Regions from separate parts of the Homo sapiens genome. Here regions 1 and 2 are each linked to region 3. Evidence: promoter capture Hi-C in human tissues and cell types (Jung and others, 2019). All regions are on one chromosome and are shown on one strand. The core of a region is centred on a gene start or on the middle of the fragment in contact, and the rest is flanking DNA. Distances in the headings are between cores, read along the strand shown. Region 1 has its middle 30 kb from the start of ZHX1-C8orf76. Region 2 overlaps FAM83A (family with sequence similarity 83 member A). Region 3 holds the start of C8orf76 (chromosome 8 open reading frame 76).

Region 1 (2,700 bases), core at 116-2,615, 63 kb after region 3:
TTTTGATTACTGCGGCTTTGCAGTAAGTTTTGAAATCAGGAAGTATGAATCCTCCTGCTTTGTTCTTCTTTTTCTTTTTCTTTTTTATTTTTTTTGAGACGGAGTCTTGCTCTGTCACCCAGGCTGGAGTGCAGTGGCACGATTTCGGCTCGCTGCAAGCTCTGCCTCCCGGGTTTACACCATTCTCCTGCCTCAGCCTCCCGAGTAGCTGGGACTACAGGCGCCCGCCACCGTGCCTGGCTAAGTTTTTGTATTTTTAGTAGAGACGGGGTTTCACCGTGTTAGTCAGGATGGTCTCGATCTCCTGACCTCGTGATCTGCCCGCCTCAGCCTCCCAAAGTGCTGGGATTACAGGCGTGAGCCACGGCACCCGGCTCTTCTTTTTCAATATGGTTTTGGCTATTCAAGGTGTTGTGAGATTCCATATGAAATTTAGAATGGGTTTTCCTATTTTTGCAAAAAAAAAAAAAAATCCCGAAAAGTCATTGGGGTTTTAATGGGGATTGCATTGAATTTGTAGATCACTTGGGGTTATGTTGACCTCATTGACAGTATTAAGTCTTCTAATCCATGAACATGGGATGTGTTTCAATTTATATATGTCTTCACTAATTTCTTTCAGCAATGGCTTGTAGTTTTCATTGTACAAGTCTTTCACCTCCTTGGTTCAGCTAATATCAAATATTTTATTCTTTTTGTTGCTATTGTAAATGGAATTGTTCTTGCAATTTCCTTTTCAGATTGTTCATTGTGTTTAGAAATGCAGTTGATTTTGTGTGTTGACTTGGTAACCTGCTACTTTGCTGAATTCACTTACTAGCTCTTAACAGTTTTTTCTTTGGTGTGTGTGTGTGTGCATGTAATCTTTGTTTTTTTCTGCTTATAAGGTCTATCTGCAAACAGATAGTTTTACTTCTTCCTTTCCAACATAAATGCTTTTTATTTTATTTTTTTTCCTAAATGCTCTGGCTAGAACCTCCAGTACTACATTGAATAGAAGTTGCAAAAGTGGGCTTCCTTGTCTTCTCCCTGATCTTGGAGGAAAAGCTTTCAGTCTTTCACAATTGGGTATGATGTTTGCTGTGGATTTTCACATATAGCTTTACGTTGAGGTAGTTTCCTGCTATTCCTAGTTTGTTGAGTGTTTTTATAATAAAAGGGTGCTAAATTTTGTCAAATGCCTTTTTACTGAATCAACTGAGATGATCATGTGTTTTTCCCCTTCATTCTGCTAATTTAGTGTATTACATTGATCGATTTTTGTATATTGAATCATCCTTGCATTCCAGGAATACATCTTACTTAGTCATGGCGTACAATCCTTTTTTTTTTTTTTAATTGATATGGAGTCTCACTCTGTCACCCAGGCTAGAGTGCAGTGGCATGATCTTGAGTTACTGCAACCTCTGCCTCCTGAGTTCAAGCAATTCTCCTGCCTCAGCCTCCCAAGTAGCTGGGATTACAGGCGTGAGCCACCACGCCCGGCTAATTTTTTGTATTTTTAGTGGGGATGGGGTTTCACCATGTTGACTGGTCTGGTCTCGAACTCCTGACCACAAGTGATCCACCCACCTTGGCCTCCCAAAGTGCTAGGATTACAGGAGTGAGCCACACGCCTGGCCTACAATCCTTTTAATATGCTGCTGAATTCAGTTTGCTAGTATTTTATGGAGGATTTTTACATCAGTGTTTGTAAAGGATACTAAAGAAAACTACAAATATTTGTCTGTAGTTTTCTTAGGTACTGTCTTTGGATTTGGTATCAGGACAATTCTGGCTACAGAATGAGTTAGAAAGTGTTCCTTTGTTAAAATAATTTTTTTTTTTTAGAAAAGTTTGAGGATTGGTATAGTTCTTTAAATGTTTGCTAGAATTCACTGGTGAAGCCATCAGGTCCAGGGTTTTTCTTTATCAGGAAATTTTTGATTACAAATTCAGTCTCTTTGTTATTGATCTATTCAGATTTTCTATTTCTCTATGATTTAGTGTTGGTAGGTTTTGTGTTTCTGTAAATGTGTCCATTTCATCTAGTGTATCCAACTTGTTGGCATATAATTGCTCACAGTACTATTATAATCCTTTATATTTCTGTAACATCAGTAATAATGTCCCCATTTTCATTTCTGACTTTATTTCATTTATTTATGTATTTATTTACTTATTTTTGAGATAGAGTTTCACTCTGTCTCCCGGGCTGGAGTGCAGTGGTCCGATCTCATCTCAATGTAACCTCCACCTCCCAGGTTCAAGCAATTCTCCTGCCTCAGCCTCCTGAGTAGCTGGGATTACAGGTGCCCACCACACCTGGCTAATTTTTGTATTTTTAGTAGAGACAGGGTTTCACCATGTTGGCTAGGCTGGTCTCGAACTCCTGACCTCAAGTGATCCACCTGCCTTGGTCTCCCAAAATGGTATTACAGGCGTGAGCTACTGTGCCCGGCCTAATTTCTGACTTTAGTAACGTGTCTTCTCTCATCTTTTCCTAGTCCATCCAGCTAAAAGTTTGTTGATTGCATTGTTTCAAAGAACCAATGTTTAGTTTCATTAATTTTCTCTGTTGTTCTTCTATTCCTTATGTTGTTTTTCTCTGCTCTAATCTTTAATATTTCTTTTTTTCTGTTAGCTTTTGGTTGTTTGCTTTTTTTCTTCTAGTTCCTTAAGTTGTAAAACTAGGTTATTGATTTGAGATCTTTCTTGTTT
Region 2 (2,700 bases), core at 130-2,629, 51 kb before region 3:
TGGGATTATAGGCATAAGCCACCGTGCCTGGCCTTCAACCCACTATACCTTCTTAGGAAGAACAGTGGTCCAAACCAGTTACTGGCTTCAAATTAATCCAGCTGGAAGACAATCCCAACAGGAAGCAAACAAGATAAACCTAGACAGGGTGAGCCTGTATTTCCAAGCATCCTTTAATTCAAGATGCTGGGTTATTTCCAAACCTGCCCCTGTCTCTGTTCAATCACCAGCTCACCAGCCCTGTCTCAGGAAAATGATGATTCATTGGCATAGAACTGGAAGTACTTACTGACCTATCAGGGAGGGAGGGAATTGTTTCTTTTGTCAATACCTTGGAAGAGGAGGCATTTATCTTTCAGCAAACAGGGAAAGCCTAAGCTGCTTTCAGTGCTATAAGGCTAAATGTGTGCAAGACAATTAATTGTGTGATTACAGGGCCATGGTTCTAATGATCACAGCCTCATTATTAGAACATCTTTTCCGATTTCCTGCCCAGGGTGAGCAATCTCTGAGGAGTTCCCTCCCCTGTCCAGCTATCCATCCACATCACAGAAAGTTGATTCCAAGTGGATACCAGCCATCAGTTTGGCCTGCCAGTAAGACACCTCTCTTTCCTTGGCTACTTCCCAGATGGCGGTGGTTTTAAAAAATATATTGCAATGATTAGAAAGATAGTGGAAACTTATTATTACAGGTAATCTTGAAGAAAGGGAATGGCCGTATTCCCTGTGAAAGGAAAGTATCTTTGGCCCCCAAAATCACTAAGGAAAACTCAAGCTGGAAACTGCTTAGGGCAAACCTGCCTCCCATTCTATTCAAAGTCACCGCTCTGCTCACTGAGATAGATGCATATCTGATGCCTCCTTTGGAAAGACTAATCAGAAACTCAAAAGAATGCAACAGTTTTTGTCTTACTTATCTGTGGCCTGGATGCTCCCTCCTGGCTTTGAGTCTTCCTGCCTTTGCTTCCAGTTGTCCCACCTTTCCAGATTGAACCAAAGTACTTCTTACATCTATTAATTGATGTCTCATGTCTCCCTAAAATGTATAAAATCAAGCTGTGCCCCGACCACCTTGGGCACATGTCGTCAGGACTTCCTCGGGCATGTCCTCAACCTTGGCAAAATAAACTTTCTAAATTAACTGAGCCCTGTTTTATTTTCTGGGTTCACATCCCCCATCCTAACATGACTGTTAGTTTTTGCTTTGGGCTTACCTACAATCATGTACGGAATAATGACATTTTGGTTACTAACAGACCACATCTATGACAGTGCTCCCATAAGATTATAATGGAGCAGGTGGGGTGGCTCACTCCTGTAATCCCAGCAATTTGGGAGGCTGAGGCTTAAGGATTGCTTAAGCCCAACAGTTCGAGACCAGCCTGGGCAACATAGTGAAACCCCATGTCTACAGAAAAAAAATGAAAGAGAGAGAGGAAGAAAAGAAAGAAAAGAAAGAAAGAAAGAAGAAAGAAAGAAAGAAAATTAACATTTTAAATTTTTATGTATTTTCTTATTTTTTTATTTTGAGACAGAGTCTCTTTCTGTCACCCAGGCTGGAGTGCAGTGGTGCGATCTCGGCTCACTGCAACCTCTGCCTCCTGGGTTCAAGCGATTCTCTTGCCTCAGCCTCCCCAGTAGCTGGGACTATAGGCGTGCACTACCAGTCCAGCTAATTTTTTTTTTTTTTTTTAGTAGAGACGAGCTTTCACCATGTTGATCAGGCTGGTCTCGAGCTCCAGATCTCAAATGATCCGCCCGCCTCGGCCTCCCAAAGTGTTGGTATTACAGGCGTGAGCCACCGCGCCCGGCAGTAATTAACATTTTTAATGACTGCCTAATAAGCTGCTTGTCAGTATATCACAATTAAGGTATTAGAAAGGACTCATGACTGGGTGACAGAGAGTAAACCCAAACAAGCTTAAGAAGAAGAGAAACATTCATTAACATCCACAGTGGAAAAGTCAAGGGTGGCACTGGTCTCAGGCATGGCTGGAACCAGGTGTCCAAATGACAATGCTGGGACTCTGTCTCTACCTCCTGGCTGCTTTCTCCAGGGATGGCTTCATTGTCAGGCAGGCTCTCCCCAAGAGGTAGCAAAAATGGTTGCCAGCAGCCATTGCTTATAAAATACCAGCTAAGCAACCTCGTAGAAAGAACACCTCCTTTTCCCAGGAGTCCCAGCTAAAGTCCTGGGCTGACTCTTATTAGAATAACTTAGATCATGTGACCACCTCTGGACCAATGTCTGTGGCCAACAGGGGATGCCATGCTCCCATTGGTCTAGCCTTGGTCATGTGGTCTCCCCATATCCAGTCAAAGAATGGCAATAGACCCTTCCAAACCACATTGATTGTGGAGGGGAGGCAATTACTTAAAGTCAGATTGGGATGCTGTTGACAGAAGAAGGGAGAATGAATGCTTGGCAGGAGGAACACAGATGTCTCTCCTGCTCACTGAAGGTCTAGAACTCCCCTCCCCAGTTTCTACTGTGACACATGATGCAGTAGCTGTGGGTAGAGCGTGACTCCCTTCTCCATCCCACGGGGAGCAGCTTGCTCTAGGCGCTTATATACGGTGCCTCCACATGGGATTTTGTTTGAGGATAGGATTCCACGGCTTAACAGCATTTGAAAATCAGTGGCCATAGTGTGCCCTCTAGCTCCAAGTGGCTGAGAATCCATAACCTTAACTTTAT
Region 3 (2,700 bases), core at 182-2,681:
CGCGCCACTGCACTCCAGCATGGGCAACAAACTCCACCTCAAAAAAAAAAAAAAGAAAAGAAAAAAATCACTTCATTTTAGAATTTATATTAAATTCTATGCACCTGTACAGCACATCAGATCTGACAAAGTATTTTCATATACATTATCTCATTTCACTCCCACGATAACTCTGTGAGCCAGCATGTATTATTTTTCTGAAGGGACAAATAAGGAGCTGACACCTTCAAGGCAAGTGGTTAAAGCCAACACTGGAATTCAAGAGTCCTATCTCATAACCAGAGTTTTTTTAATGTTCTGCCACATGATTTCCAAGCCCAATCCCTGTTTTGAGTCTACATGATCCAGGGCTGAAGGTAACTTTGAAAGATCGTATGTGATAAGGAGAAAATGCAACTGAAATAACCAAAAACACAATTCAGTAATTATCGAGTGCCTGGCATCTTGTCAGTACAATTGTGAGGAACGAATGAGACAGTATATGCGAAGGAACCCACCACAGTGCCCGGAACACTTCCGTATTTTCCATAAATATTAGTTTTGACTGATGAACTATTTACACTCATGAAAGAATAGGAAGTAATACTCTACTAATTCAAAAATATTCGCGGAGTCACTATTATTAATAAAAACTGTTAGGCACTGCCAAGGGCATCAAGAACCCATGCTGGTGCGATCATTTAGCACTCCGGGTCTCAGGACTTTGTGGGAATACTGACAAGTGCTTTAAGTAGAAGCTAAATAGAGGGAAGGGGGCCAAAGACAAAAATATTTGGCTGGAAGACGAAATCAGAAAAGACTTCCTAGAGGAGATGACATTTAAGATGTGCCTTGAAAAACGGATATAACTGAAGGACTTTAACCATCAGCGCGGGGTTGGTACGGGCAGGGGGAGCTCGCCGAAGAGGGAGGGGAGAGTGGGTTTGCCGGAGGTCACCGTTTTGGGAGGCCTGACTGCCCAGCTGTAAGAGCAGTGAAGACAAACGGGAGGTACCGGAGATTGCAGGGCAGGGGCGTTGAGACCAGCCGGCAGCAGCCAGGCCGGCCAAATGCCAAGTGGGAGTCAAGCCGCTTACAACGCGGGGATTCTCGCCCATGGACCCGGAATGGGGCCTGGGAAAGCCGCTTCCCCGTGGAGGAGGAGGGACGGCGGGGGACGCGGCGGGCGCTGGAGCCTGCCAGGGTTTGCGTTCGCGCGGACGGAGGGGCCGAGGCCGGGGCCGGGGCCCCGCGGAGGGCGAGGCCTGGGGCCCGGGATAAGGCGAAGAGGCCCCAGCTTCTCACCTGCGGCTCGCAGAGCTTGGCGCAGTAGGACGCGGGCGGTCCTGACCGCCGCTCCGGCCTCTCCTCGAACACCGAGTCCTCGAACTCGCCGCCGAACAACCAGCACCCGGAATCCATCTCGCGCCCGCGGCGGGGGCAACGAGGAAGCGGGGCCCGCCGGAAAAGGCGGGGCTTCCACGGCCCAGAGCGCGGCACGCTGGGACTTGTAGTCTTTGAGGGCGACGCGGGGACGTGGCCGCTGCTGGTTGGGAGTAGTGGTTGAGCTGAGATGATTATCTGACCCACTAACTGACCGAACCCCAGGACGGAGGTTTTGACTTCTCTGTGTCAGGAGATGGACAGAATGATCCTTACCTGCACGCATCAAAAAGCACGCTGGCCCCAGAGTAGCTGTTTAAAACTCGCAGGTACCTTTTTAAAAATTAAAATAAGAGGCCGGGCGCGGTGGCTCAAGCCTGTAATCCCAGCACTTTGGGAGGCCAAGGTGGGCGGATCACTTGAGGTCGGGAGTTCGAGACCAGCCTGACCAACATTGAGTAACCAGGTCTGTACTGAAAATACAAAAATTAGCCGGCCGTAGTGGCGCGCGCCTGTAATCCCAGCTACTCGGTAGGCTGAGGCAGGAGAATCGCTTGAACCCGGGAGGCGGAGGTTGCGGTGAGCCAAGATCGCATCATTGCACTCCAGCCTAGGCAACAAGAGTGAAACTTCGTCTCAAAATAAAAAATAAAATAAAATAAAATAAATAAAATAATTTCGAGACAGGGTCTCGCTCTGTCGCCCAGGTTGGAGTGCAGTGGTGAGATCATGGCTCACTGCAGCCTCGAACTCCCAGACTCAACCTATCATCCCGCCTCAGTCCCCCAAGTAGCTGGGGCTACAGGCGCGCGCCACCATGACCGTCTAACTTGTGTATTTTTTGTGGAGACTGGGTTTCCCTACGTTGCCCAGGCTGGTCTCGAACCTGATCTCAAGCGATCCGCCCACCTCGTTCTCCCAAAGTGCTGGGATTATAGGCGTGAGCCACTAAGCCCGGTGCAAGTACCAATTGTCAACCACTGTGCATTCCCGTCACTGTGTTAAGCACATTTTTTCTTTTCGGCTAACAACCACCTTATGAAAGCCAAAGTGATTCCCATTTTGCAAATCCTATTTTGAAGATATTGGAGTTTGGAGAGGTTAAGTAACTTGTTAAGTTTCGGTCATTATGTGGCTGAAACTTGGGAAATACAGAAATGAATGCGTACTCTCCGTGCTTCCGGACAAGAGACACTACCACCAATAACAAAGACCGGAGTCATTCACGCATTTATGAAAGAAAAGACACAGAAATATACCGTGGGAGGCTAGATCAGGGAGCATTCATTCGACCTGGAGAACACCAAATCTCAAAATTCTAAGACTAACATTTACTAC

Evidence for each region. The method cuts DNA at HindIII sites, captures the fragments that hold promoters and counts their contacts. A contact is called where the count stands out against the background at its distance.
Region 1: a fragment that was not itself captured here is called in contact with the fragment with the promoter of C8orf76 in region 3 in 1 of the 25 tissues and cell types used here (IMR-90 fibroblasts).
Region 2: a fragment that was not itself captured here is called in contact with the fragment with the promoter of C8orf76 in region 3 in 3 of the 25 tissues and cell types used here (IMR-90 fibroblasts, aorta and thymus).

What each region holds. Positions count from the first base shown.
Region 1 is chr8:123,302,771-123,305,470 of GRCh38, forward strand. No RefSeq gene overlaps it. Among named protein-coding and RNA genes, the nearest start is that of ZHX1-C8orf76, 30 kb to the left of the region's middle. The HindIII fragment of the contact is 3,571 bases long and covers 1-2,700 here.
Region 2 is chr8:123,188,750-123,191,449 of GRCh38, forward strand. All of the region lies in intron 1 of FAM83A (family with sequence similarity 83 member A), which reads left to right. Among named protein-coding and RNA genes, the nearest start is that of FAM83A-AS2, 7.3 kb to the left of the region's middle. The HindIII fragment of the contact is 6,941 bases long and covers 1-2,700 here.
Region 3 is chr8:123,239,946-123,242,645 of GRCh38, forward strand. C8orf76 (chromosome 8 open reading frame 76) reads right to left here and starts at 1,432. Exons shown (of 6, transcript NM_032847.3): 1 at 1,285-1,432. The coding sequence starts at 1,401. The region is part of intron 2 of ZHX1-C8orf76 (ZHX1-C8orf76 readthrough); the gene reads right to left. RefSeq lists an enhancer at 1,218-1,718 and a silencer at 1,219-1,338. The HindIII fragment of the contact is 18,562 bases long and covers 1-2,700 here.